Linked DNA regions of Homo sapiens: region 1 is linked to region 2. Evidence: promoter capture Hi-C in 16 types of primary human blood cells and fetal thymus (Javierre and others, 2016). All regions are on one chromosome and are shown on one strand. The core of a region is centred on a gene start or on the middle of the fragment in contact, and the rest is flanking DNA. Distances in the headings are between cores, read along the strand shown.

Region 1 (5,281 bases), core at 2,033-4,532, 840 kb before region 2:
AATATCTTCCTCCTCCTCATCATTATCATCTTTTCGTTCCTCTTCTTTTTCTATGTTTTCTAAATAGGCCTCCATTTCAGAGAGTTTGAAGAATTTATCATCTACTATGGACTTTTCTCTTGGTTTTCCCTGTCCTTTGTTTTGCACCTTGCTCTGCTGTTCCAATTTGCTGATATCAAAGTCAAGGTCAGAATCCTCATCACTGAAAACGGGGCTTTTCCTCAGATCAGATTTGCTTGAGTTTTCAGCTCTCTCACCCATTTCAGGATCATCATTACCCATGTCGGACACTTCCTCCTCCTCTAAATCTTCTAGGTCCTCCTTGTCATCAGCCTCTATCTCTGAACCATCCTCTTCACGTTCCTGTTCTTCACTCTCTGGGAGAAGACTGATATCTTCATCATTAATTGTTTCACTAACTGCATTCTGAAAGTATTGTAAAATTGGTTCATTTTGCAATTCCAGTTGTTGCCAAATCTGCTCATCATCAAAATTTTCTATCACAAGTTTTTGCAAGGGGCTTCCATGGATCCTACCATTCTCTAATATTTTATTAAAGTCATAAAGCACTTTTGTTAAAGAAGTGAACTTTGATGCCAATCCCTCTTGAATCCTATTGGGAGGAATTAAGTGAGATTTAGAATTACAGGTAATAATTTCACAGCACTCTTAATAAAAATAAAAAAAACCCAACTCTTTTGTAAAATAAAATTTGAATGAAGTATAAGTATAGATTCTGGCCCCCAACAACATATAAGCTGATGAGCTACACTGATATATAAAACCTGTCAACCAAGTATCTGTGAATCGGCTGTATAGATTTTAGGCAGGAAAACCATTATAAATCTATTTGCTTGGAGATATATAGTGAATTAACCTTAAATTATCAATTCTGCTACATTATATACCACTCCATTCATTTGTTCACTTATTCATTCAATGATCAACATTTGCTTTGGCTACAGTGGTCAAGGAAAACCTCTCTTAGATGTCACATCTGAGAGGAAACCTACAGATAAGGAGATAGTCTTATAAAGGTTGGGAAACATGTATTCCAGGCAGAAGAAATCCTCTAAGATGCAAATCCTCTAGAGGTGAGCTTGAGGAAACAAACAGGTGACCATGGCTAGAGTGTGAAGGAGGCAGAGGGTGAAGCTGGAGAGACTGATGGGAGCCAAATTATGCATGGTTCAGGAGTAAGAATTTGTCATTTAAAGTGTAAAGAGAAAACATTTTAAGCAGAGGGATGAAATGATGATTTACACGAAGGAAGGAGAAAGGGACGAGGGAGGAGGAGGAAAGTACAGTGATTAGAAGGTTGATGCAGCATTCCAGCGAAAGGATAATGGTGATTTAGACTGGAGTTAGAGCAGTGAATATGCTGAGTATAGTTTGGAGGTAGAACTGACAGGATTGCTAAAGAATTAGATATAGAATAGAGAAAAATGAAGACATTAAAGTAGCAGCCTAGTTTTATGTTTGAGTACCTGAAAAGACAGAAGTGCCATTTACTGAGATAGGGAAGGCTTGGGTGGTGGTGTCAGGCCTCTGAGCTGAAGCTCAGCCATTGTAACCCCTGTGACCTGCACATATATGTCCAGATGGCCTGCAGGAGCCAAGAAGTCTGGGGCAGCCGAAAAACCACAAAAGAAATAAAACAGCCAGTTCCTGCCTTAATTGATTAATCAACATTACAACATTCCTCCATTGTGACTTGTCCCTGCCCTACCTTAACTGATCAATCGACCTTGTGACATTCTTCTTCTGGACAATAAGTCTTATGATCTCCCCACCATGTACCTTGTGACCCCGTCCTCCTCTGCTAATAGATAACCACCTTTTACTGTAATTTTCCATTACCTACCCAACTCCTATAAAGCAACCCCTTCCCCATCACCATTAGTTGACTCTCTTTTCGGACTCAGCCCACTTGCACCCAAGTGAATAAACAGCCTTGTGGCTCACACAAAGCCTGTTTTAGTGGTCTCTTCACACAGACGCGCTTGACAGGTGTAGCATGGGAAAAGGACTTCAGGGGATGGCAGAGTATAGGTGGGTAGAAACAACAATTCTATTAAACAGACACAACAGCTCTATTTTGGACGCAGTGAATTTGAGATGCTTGACAGTACCAAAATTTTAAAAATCGTTAAAAGTTGTACAGTGTGGATATCCCAGTTGTGTGCTACGGAATTCAAACTAAGCTCAGTCTGTAGTTGCTGTGAGCTGGGAACTCAGGGAAAGGTTGGGGTTTGAAACATAAATGAGTAATAATTTCATAGATCACATTTTAAATTCTTCAACAAAATACATATAAAACGCTTGTGTTGGGAAGAGACATGGAAGTTCTATTTCTGAAGAAGCTTAGTCATGGGGGGTGGACAGACAAGTGACAAGTTCGTACTTTCAATAAAGTATGCTAAGCGCTAAGTGCTTTGAGAGCACATAGGAGGAAGGAGAAACCAACAGTCTGTGTGTAGAGGGATGGGGGCGTAAGAAGCCCAAGGGAAGCTTCTAGGTGTTAACAATTGAGGTTAGAGTGATTTCAGTAACACTCAACTGAGAGATCCATCTATACAAATTTTAACAGTTTTTAAAATTTTGATAGCCTAGGAAAGCATAAACTCTGAAATTTGGGGAAAAGCGATTTTACGTTTCCCCTTACCTTCCCCCAGCTCCACAATTTGCCGGAGGCCTGCAACCCGCGTCCACGTGAGACCCCGGTCGCACCCCGAGCCCGGGATCTGCGCACTTACGTGAGGAAGCACTCGGGCCGACCCGTGGCTTTGCCGACTTCCGTCAGACACCGCTCCAGGGTCCGTCGACGCCAGACCTGCGGCGCCATGGCTGTCAGCAACTCCCGACACAATGCAGCATGCAAGGGAAGGGAGCCGCCCGGAAACCGCGCGGCAAAGATGCGCCCAGCGCAACTTGGATTTCAGAGCCGAAAGTTCCGCGGCGCACAGGTTCCGGACTCGCCCTCAGCCAGAGCCAATGGCAGCGCGAGCGCTTTCGCAGGAGGGTGGGAAACAAAAATCTCCATGGTCAGCCCAAACGCCTTTCAACTCTCTCCAAACTTCGTTTTGTATTTTTCAGGGGCCCACAAAGGGTGACCCGTCCTGGCCTTACGTTTCTGTTTTAGCTAAAGTAGGCCCGTTGTAGCAGGAAAGCAGCGACCTTCGCCACGCCCCTGACCTTTCTGTCCCCGCCCCCTCTGCCTCCCGCCCCGCCCTCTGCCGCGCGTCTCTCAACCTCCGTGGCTAGTCTTGACGTGGCGGGTTGCTTTCCAAAATGGCGCGGGTGCTGAAGGCTGCAGCCGCGAATGCCGTAGGTGAATACCGGGCACCGGCGACCTTCGCCATGGGACAGGGAGCGTGGGAACGGCGGTCGGGGGCGGAGGAGGCCTCGGCGTGGCCAAAGCACCTTGATCTAATGTCCTCCCCCGGGGGCGCGTTCCACAGCAGCTGCTGTCACTTAGGCAGAGGGTGCCTTCCAGAAGCGCCACCGCTTAGTAGCGGGGATTGCCTTGTGCATGAGTCCCATTTCCATCCGAGAGCTGTGCGCCTTGGGCTCTGCACCTTCCAGTATGTGGGCGGGAGAGTCGAGGGAACTTGCCCGGCAGGTCAGGCAGGGCAGGGACAGAAGTAAATAGAAGCGGATCGGTAAGTTATTTTACCGCGCACCAATAAAGAGACTGGGGAGAAACCAGAAAGGAGAGCACGTTCCGTAAAAACAACAACTACTAGTCGGCCGAACTCCAAGCGTGACCAGCTTTCTGTTGGGAACACTCAAAGGTCAGTGGTGTAAAGAATACAAAAGGAGTGGTTTTTCCACGTGCACTAATATATTTATCGCGTACACAGATAAAAGCATGTGGATTTGGAAACTTTCTTGAGTTCTCTCCCCCTTCATTTTTTTTAAAATATGTACATAGAATCAGTTATGACAGAAATAACTGTAATAATTGTCACGTTTTCTGACTCACTTTCTCCTCTTTTTATCCTTTTTTTTTTTCTCTTCCTCCTTTTATGAGAGGGCAAGTATTTCCCTTAATCTGAGATTCCCTATTAGGAAGAAGGTGCCAAGTGGTAATGCCCCAGAGTTACTCCGGGACATTCGTGATAAATCCTTCTAGCACCAGAGCCCACATTCTTAACCGTAAGGCATACCTTCCTCTTAGGTGATACACAAGATAGGAACGTAAAACTATAAATAAATGAATATTTGGGAAAAGGCATTTTTATGTCTATTTTTAGAACTGCACACTTTAATGATTGACAGTTTGGGAAAAAGTATGACTTCCAACAGGTCATATACATACTGCAAGAACTCAATACAGATAAAGGTGCATGTTTGTTTTGTACTTACATACACATCTTGGCATAAAGGAAAAATGAAGACAGTGTATTCCAAAGATTGCCTTTGATTTGTCCTATTAAGATACTTGAAGCTTAATGTCTCCACTTGTGTGTGTGTGTGTGTGGTTGAATATACATAAAGTAAAATTTACCTTTTTTTTTTTTTTTGAGACAGAGTCTCACTCTGTCGCCCAGGCTGGAGTGCAGTGGCGTTAGCTCACTGCAACCTCTGCCTCCCAGGTTCAAGCCATTCTTCCGCCTCAGCCTCCCGAGTAGCTGGGATTACAGGCACCCGGCACCACGCCCGGCTAATTTTTTGCATTTTTAGTGGAGACGAGATTTCACCATGTTGGCCAGGCTGGTTTGGAACTCCTGGCCTCAGGTGATCTGCCCACCTCGTCTTCCCAAAGTGCTGGGATTACAGGCGTGAGCCCGTCTCTACTAAAAATACAAAAATTAGCCGGGCGTGGTAGCACACGCCTGTTATCCCGGGTACTCGGGAGGCTGAGGCAGGATAATCGCTTGAACCCGGGAGGCGGAGGTTGGCGTGAGCCAAGATCGCGCCACTGCACTCCAGCCTGGGCAACCAAAGCGAAACTCCGTCTCAGAAAAAAAAAAAAAATTGCTTTTTAAGACTGAATAATATTCCATTGTGTGTGTATACCACATTTTGTTTATCCATTCGTCTCTTGATAGACATTTGGGTTATCCCCACCTTTTGGCTATTGTAATACAGCTATGAACGTGGGTGTACAAATACTTCTGAATTCCCGCTTCTTTGGGGGTGTGTATACTCATAAGTGGAATTGCTGGATTACATGGTAATTCTATGTTATGGCCCCTCTTTTAAGGAACATAAAACTTCGCCGAAAAACAAAAGCACAGAAAAATCAGAGTGAACACGTAGAAAAGTTCTGAAAATG
Region 2 (4,938 bases), core at 1,945-4,444:
GAGTTGGTGGAGTCTGAGGAGAGATATTTTCTCTTTGTTGCCAACATCCTGTTTACCAAAAGTGTCACCCCACCATCTTCCATAAGCTGTGAAACAAAATCAATGAGGTCACTAACTTAGAAGGGAAAGAAAGTTTTCTGGGTCTTTGTTTTCTTGATTTGGGGTAATTTATACAAGGGCATACAAGTTGATTTTAAGATGTGGAACTGGGAGGTAGACTAGTTTGGATAAGAACTTTGAAATGTTCCTTGTGGATCCCCATTTCTGGTCATCAAGATGTGGATGTACATTTCTTAAAATTATTACATGCTGCATCTTTCAGCCTGGAGACTGTGCAGAAACATGAGAGGTGATGACACACTAATTATGGGAAGCAGAATTACTGGCTGATGGCCCCTGAGGCTGTGTGTAACAAAATGACAGGACAATCTTGCAGTAACACTTTCCCCTTGAAGAGAAGGGGGTTTTGATTGTGATATATACTAGTATCTAGGAATGAACAGTAAAAGAGGAGCAGTTGGCTACTTGATTACAACAGAGTAAATGAAGTACTGGATTTGGGAAAACCTGGTTTTATTAGAACATATGGAATGAAAGCCTACACCTAGCATTGCCTACTTAGCCCCCTGAATTAACAGAGCCCAATTGAGACAAACCCCTGGCAACAGGAAATTCAAGGGAGAAAAAGTAAGCAACTTGGGCTAGGATGAGCTGACTCCCTTAGAGCAAAGGAGAGACAGCCCCCATTACCAAATACCATTTTTGCCTGGGGCTTGTGCAGCTGGCAGTGTTCCTGCCCCAGCATGGCACCTTATTGTTTTGATAGCAACTTCGTTGAATTTTCACCAACTTATTACTTGAAATTATAATATAGCCTGTCCGTTTGCTGTTTCCAGGCTGTGATATATTTTCCTAGTGGTTTGACTTTAAAAATAAATAAGGTTTAATTTTCTCCCCACTATTGAGTCTTCTTTCCTTATATCTGGGTGGTGAATATGTAACTTTCTCAGGATGCTTCTCCTTTTAACAGGTTAAATGAGTTAAAATGTCCAGAAGAGTGGAAATTAGTTGTTATGGTTCAGATGCAGAACTGGTTCACTGTAAATGGGAAAAACTTTGAGAGGAGACTAGGACATTGTGACTTGAAGTTCATTAATGTAGAAAAGAAACTGTCTATGAGGCTAAAAAGAGAAATTCATTATCTATGTCAGGTCTCTAGCTTCAACTAAACACTAATAGCAAGTGGTAGTAAAGGTACAAAGCTATGACCCTGCTAGAAAAAATTCAGTGTCTAGGATTTTGAGTACTAAGAGAGTGCAAAATATGTGATGAGTTTAAGTCTTTACTATCATTGATATTTATATAGAGCCATTCCAGAATATCAGGAATTAACTGAATTTTTGAGAACTATCCCCTATTTAAACACAAGGTATTCTATTTTGGTTTAGTCTTCTATAATTTTGGGGTAACAACTGGGAACAAGTCCGAGACCACTTTTTACACATCTTGACATGAAAAAAGAACACCTTATATTAGAAAATGTTTGTGTGCTGCACTTCACATTTTATATACAGGGGCAATAGCACATCAGTGAGTTCTGGAGGTAGTGTTTGAAAAATTTCAGAATTCCCAGGCATGCTGGCTAACCCCTGTAATCTCAGCACTTTGGGAGCCGGAGGCAGGCAGATCTCTTGAGGCCAGGAATTTGAGAACAGCCTGGGCAACAAAGCAAGACCTCGTCTCTACAAAAAAAAATTAGCTGGGTGCAGTGGCGTGCGCCTGTAGTCTCAACAACTCAGGAGGCTGAGGTGGAAGGATTGCTTGAGGCCAGGAGTTCGAGGTTGCAGTGAGCCATGATCACACCATGCTCCCCAGCCTAGGCGACAGAGCAAGAACTCATCTCAAAAAAAATTTTTTTTGCAAGACCCCTCAGTCAGAAATAGATTCAAATTCTTGGAGACAGACCCAGTCACCTTACTCTACAATGGTTCAGAGGCTGCTAATTTACATGTTACGGGAACCCTACTTGGTCTGACAGTATGCTGTAGGGTTACCTGCCAAAAAAATATAGAGGCCCAGCCGGGAGCGGGGGCTCACGCCTGTAATCCCAGCACTTTGGGAGGCCGAGGCCAGCGGATCACGAGGTCAGGAGATCAAGACCATCCTGGCTAACACAGTGAAATACGGTGTCTACTAAAAATACAAAAAATCAGCCCGGCGTGGTGGCGGGCACCTGTTGTCCCAGCTACTCGGGAGGCTGAGGCAGGAGAATGGCGTGAACCCGGGAGGCAGAGCTTGCAGTGAGCCGAGATCGCGCCACTGCACTCCAGCCTGGGCGACAGAGCAAGACTCCGTCTCAAAAAAATATACATATATAGAGAGAGGCCCATTCCTCCAGGGATCATTATCATTTGGTATATTGGTATATATGAAGAAAATAAGCGATACGATCCACAGACATGCGGGATTGGCCGGGTTTGCCCAGGAGCTAGAGACGGGACCGTTATCTCAATATCTCAATTTTATTTTTTAAATAGAGAAGGGGTCTCGCTATGTTGCACAGGCTGGTCTCGAACTCCTGGGCTCAAGAGATCCAAAGTTCTGGGATTTACGGCGCCCGGCTTTTTTTATTTATTTATTTATTTTTATTTATTTTGGCTGTTCCATAGACAAGAGCAGGGATAACCGGCTGGGCGCGGTAGCTCACGCCTGTAATCCTAGCACTTTGGGAGGCCGAGGCGGGCGGATAACGAGGTCAGGAGATCGAGACCATCCTGGCTAACACGGCGAAACCCCGTCTCTACTAAAAAATACACAAAATTAGCCGGGCATGGTGGCGGGCGCCTGTAGTCCCAGCTATTCGGGTGGCTGAGGCAGGAGAATGGCGTGAGGCCGGGAGGCGGAGCTTGCAGTGAGCCGAGATCGCGCCACTGCACTCCAGCCTGGGCGACAGAGCTAGACTCCGTCTCAAAAAGAAAAGAAAAAGAGCAGGGATACCCACCGGTGGAATACCCGTTATCTCAATTTTGTACAAGGAAAACGGAATTCAGAAAGGTGCCTAGAGGACGCACCCCTCCGTCCTGGCCAATCGCTGAGGACATAACCGGAAGCTCAACGATGACCGAGGCGCTGAGATATCGCGAGGTGAAATGTAAAAACTGCCAACAATCCATTGGCTAACGAGGTCGATGACGCCAGACGCAAGACGCCGGGCCTACAGCGGGAGCGTGAGGAAAGCCGTGCGTTGCGTTCCAAGGCATCTGTGAGCCCGCGGAGTATACACCATGAGCAAAGCTCACCCTCCCGAGTTGAAAAAGTAAGTATGTGTGAGAGCCAAACCGAAGTGGTCAGTTATTTGCGTCCTGCGAGTCCCTTGGTTCCCTCTCCGTTAGCCGAATGTCTTGAGCCGCTTCACTTCATTTCTTCTTCCGGTCCGAGGTCGCCGGGATCCCGGCCAGGCTCCCGCGCATGAGACGTGAAGCCCGCGCAGAGCTCGCGCGTCGGTGTGGTTACAGCCGGCAGCCACGGCACCTCCTTCCGGCCGACTAGTCTCCAGGTCCCGCGGTCTGGCCCCTGGTCACCCGGCGCTGTCCCTCGTTCCTTGAAGATCTCCAGTGCTACCTTTTGTTGAACATCTCGAATAGTATCATGTTCTAGATAGACGGCTAGAGGGGGAAATTCTCTGAAGGAACTAAGGAGGGGCTGGAAGGGAAGGAAGTGTTTTTAAAACTACGTGAGGCATCAGAATCCGAAAGCCACTTTAGTCTTAGCAAATGTGTTTGTAGGTGTTTGAGCTTTTACTTAGAAACCTCATTCCTTTTTCTTGCCTTCTTTTACGTTAAGCTTGAATGTCATGTGTTATCTTGCTCTGATGTTGAAACTATATAAGAACATTCATTTTTCTTTTTTTTTAAGAACATTAATTTTTTCTAGTCAGAGAAGGCTAATTTTTTGAAGTTTTTTCTACACACCCAGTAAAGTCAAACAACTTTAAGTAGGAGAGCCTTACTTTAGGTAGGACTCAACGTAAAGCTTTGAATTCCTCAAATACTTTTTGAGTGGACTTAACAGGTTATGTGTTTCCTGACTACGTTTCTGTTTTGCTTATACTTCCTGATGCTGGAATTCTACATGTATTAGTTGGATTGCACAAAGGATGCAAAATTTTTACAGGGATCAGTTTTTTCTGGCGTAGCATGTGGTTGGCTTTGTGTATAGTTAGTTCATTTATTACCAGGCCCATGGAAGTCAGACAAAAGGTAAAGTTCCTATTTAATAATTTTGCGGCCGGGCACAGTGGCTCACGCCTGTAATCCCAGCACTTTGGGAGGCTGAGGCGGGAGGATCACCTGAGGTCAGGAGTTCGAGACCAGCCTGGCCAACATGGTGAAACCCCCGTCTCTACTAAAAATACAAAAAATTAGCCAGGCAGGTGGTGTGCGCCTGTAGTCTCAGCTATTCCGGAGGTTGAGGCAGGAGAATCGCTTGAACCCGGGAAGCGGAGGTTGCAGTGAGTCAAGATCGCGCCATTGCCCTCCAGCCTGGGTAACAAGACCGAAACTCTGTTTCAAAAAATAATAATATTTTTGCATTTAAAGGTCCATTTGTATCAAAGCCATCTTTTGTATGAAAACTACTTCTATGTATATTTTAGTTAGGTCTGTTAAGGAATTAATTATTAAAACATAAGCCCAACGCGGTGGCTCACGCCTGTAATCCCAGCACTTTGGGAGGCCGAGGCGGGCGGATCACGAGGTCAGGAGATGGAGATCATCATGGCTAAAACGGTGAAACCCCGTGTCTATAAAAATACAAAAAATTACGTGGGCTTGGTGGCGGGCGCTTGTAGTCCCAGCTACTCGGGAGGCTGAGGCAGGAGAATGGCGTGAACCCGGGAGGCGGAGCTTGCAGTGAGCCGAGATCGCGCCACTGCACTCC

Evidence for each region. The method cuts DNA at HindIII sites, captures the fragments that hold promoters and counts their contacts. A CHiCAGO score of 5 or more calls a contact.
Region 1: a contact is called between the fragment with the promoter of MCEE here and the fragment with the promoter of SNRPG in region 2, in 1 of 17 cell types (total B cells). The highest score is 5.6, in total B cells.

What each region holds. Positions count from the first base shown.
Region 1 is chr2:71,128,230-71,133,510 of GRCh38, reverse strand. It overlaps MCEE (methylmalonyl-CoA epimerase), which reads left to right and starts at 3,282. Exons shown (of 3, transcript NM_032601.4): 1 at 3,282-3,331. The coding sequence starts at 3,292. It overlaps MPHOSPH10 (M-phase phosphoprotein 10), which reads right to left and starts at 2,877. Exons shown (of 11, transcript NM_005791.3): 1 at 2,757-2,877; 2 at 1-613. The coding sequence starts at 2,845. RefSeq lists enhancers at 2,680-2,729, 2,830-2,879, 3,201-4,059. The HindIII fragment of the contact is 1,939 bases long and covers 2,514-4,452 here.
Region 2 is chr2:70,291,996-70,296,933 of GRCh38, reverse strand. It overlaps SNRPG (small nuclear ribonucleoprotein polypeptide G), which reads left to right and starts at 3,194. Exons shown (of 4, transcript NM_003096.4): 1 at 3,194-3,316. The coding sequence starts at 3,285. It overlaps LOC124906023 (a long non-coding RNA gene), which reads right to left and starts at 3,032. Exons shown (of 2, transcript XR_007086880.1): 1 at 3,002-3,032; 2 at 920-1,876. FAM136A (family with sequence similarity 136 member A) reads left to right here. Exons shown (of 3, transcript NM_001329752.2): 3 at 1-958. RefSeq lists enhancers at 3,033-3,512, 3,529-4,436. The HindIII fragment of the contact is 8,673 bases long and covers 1-3,845 here.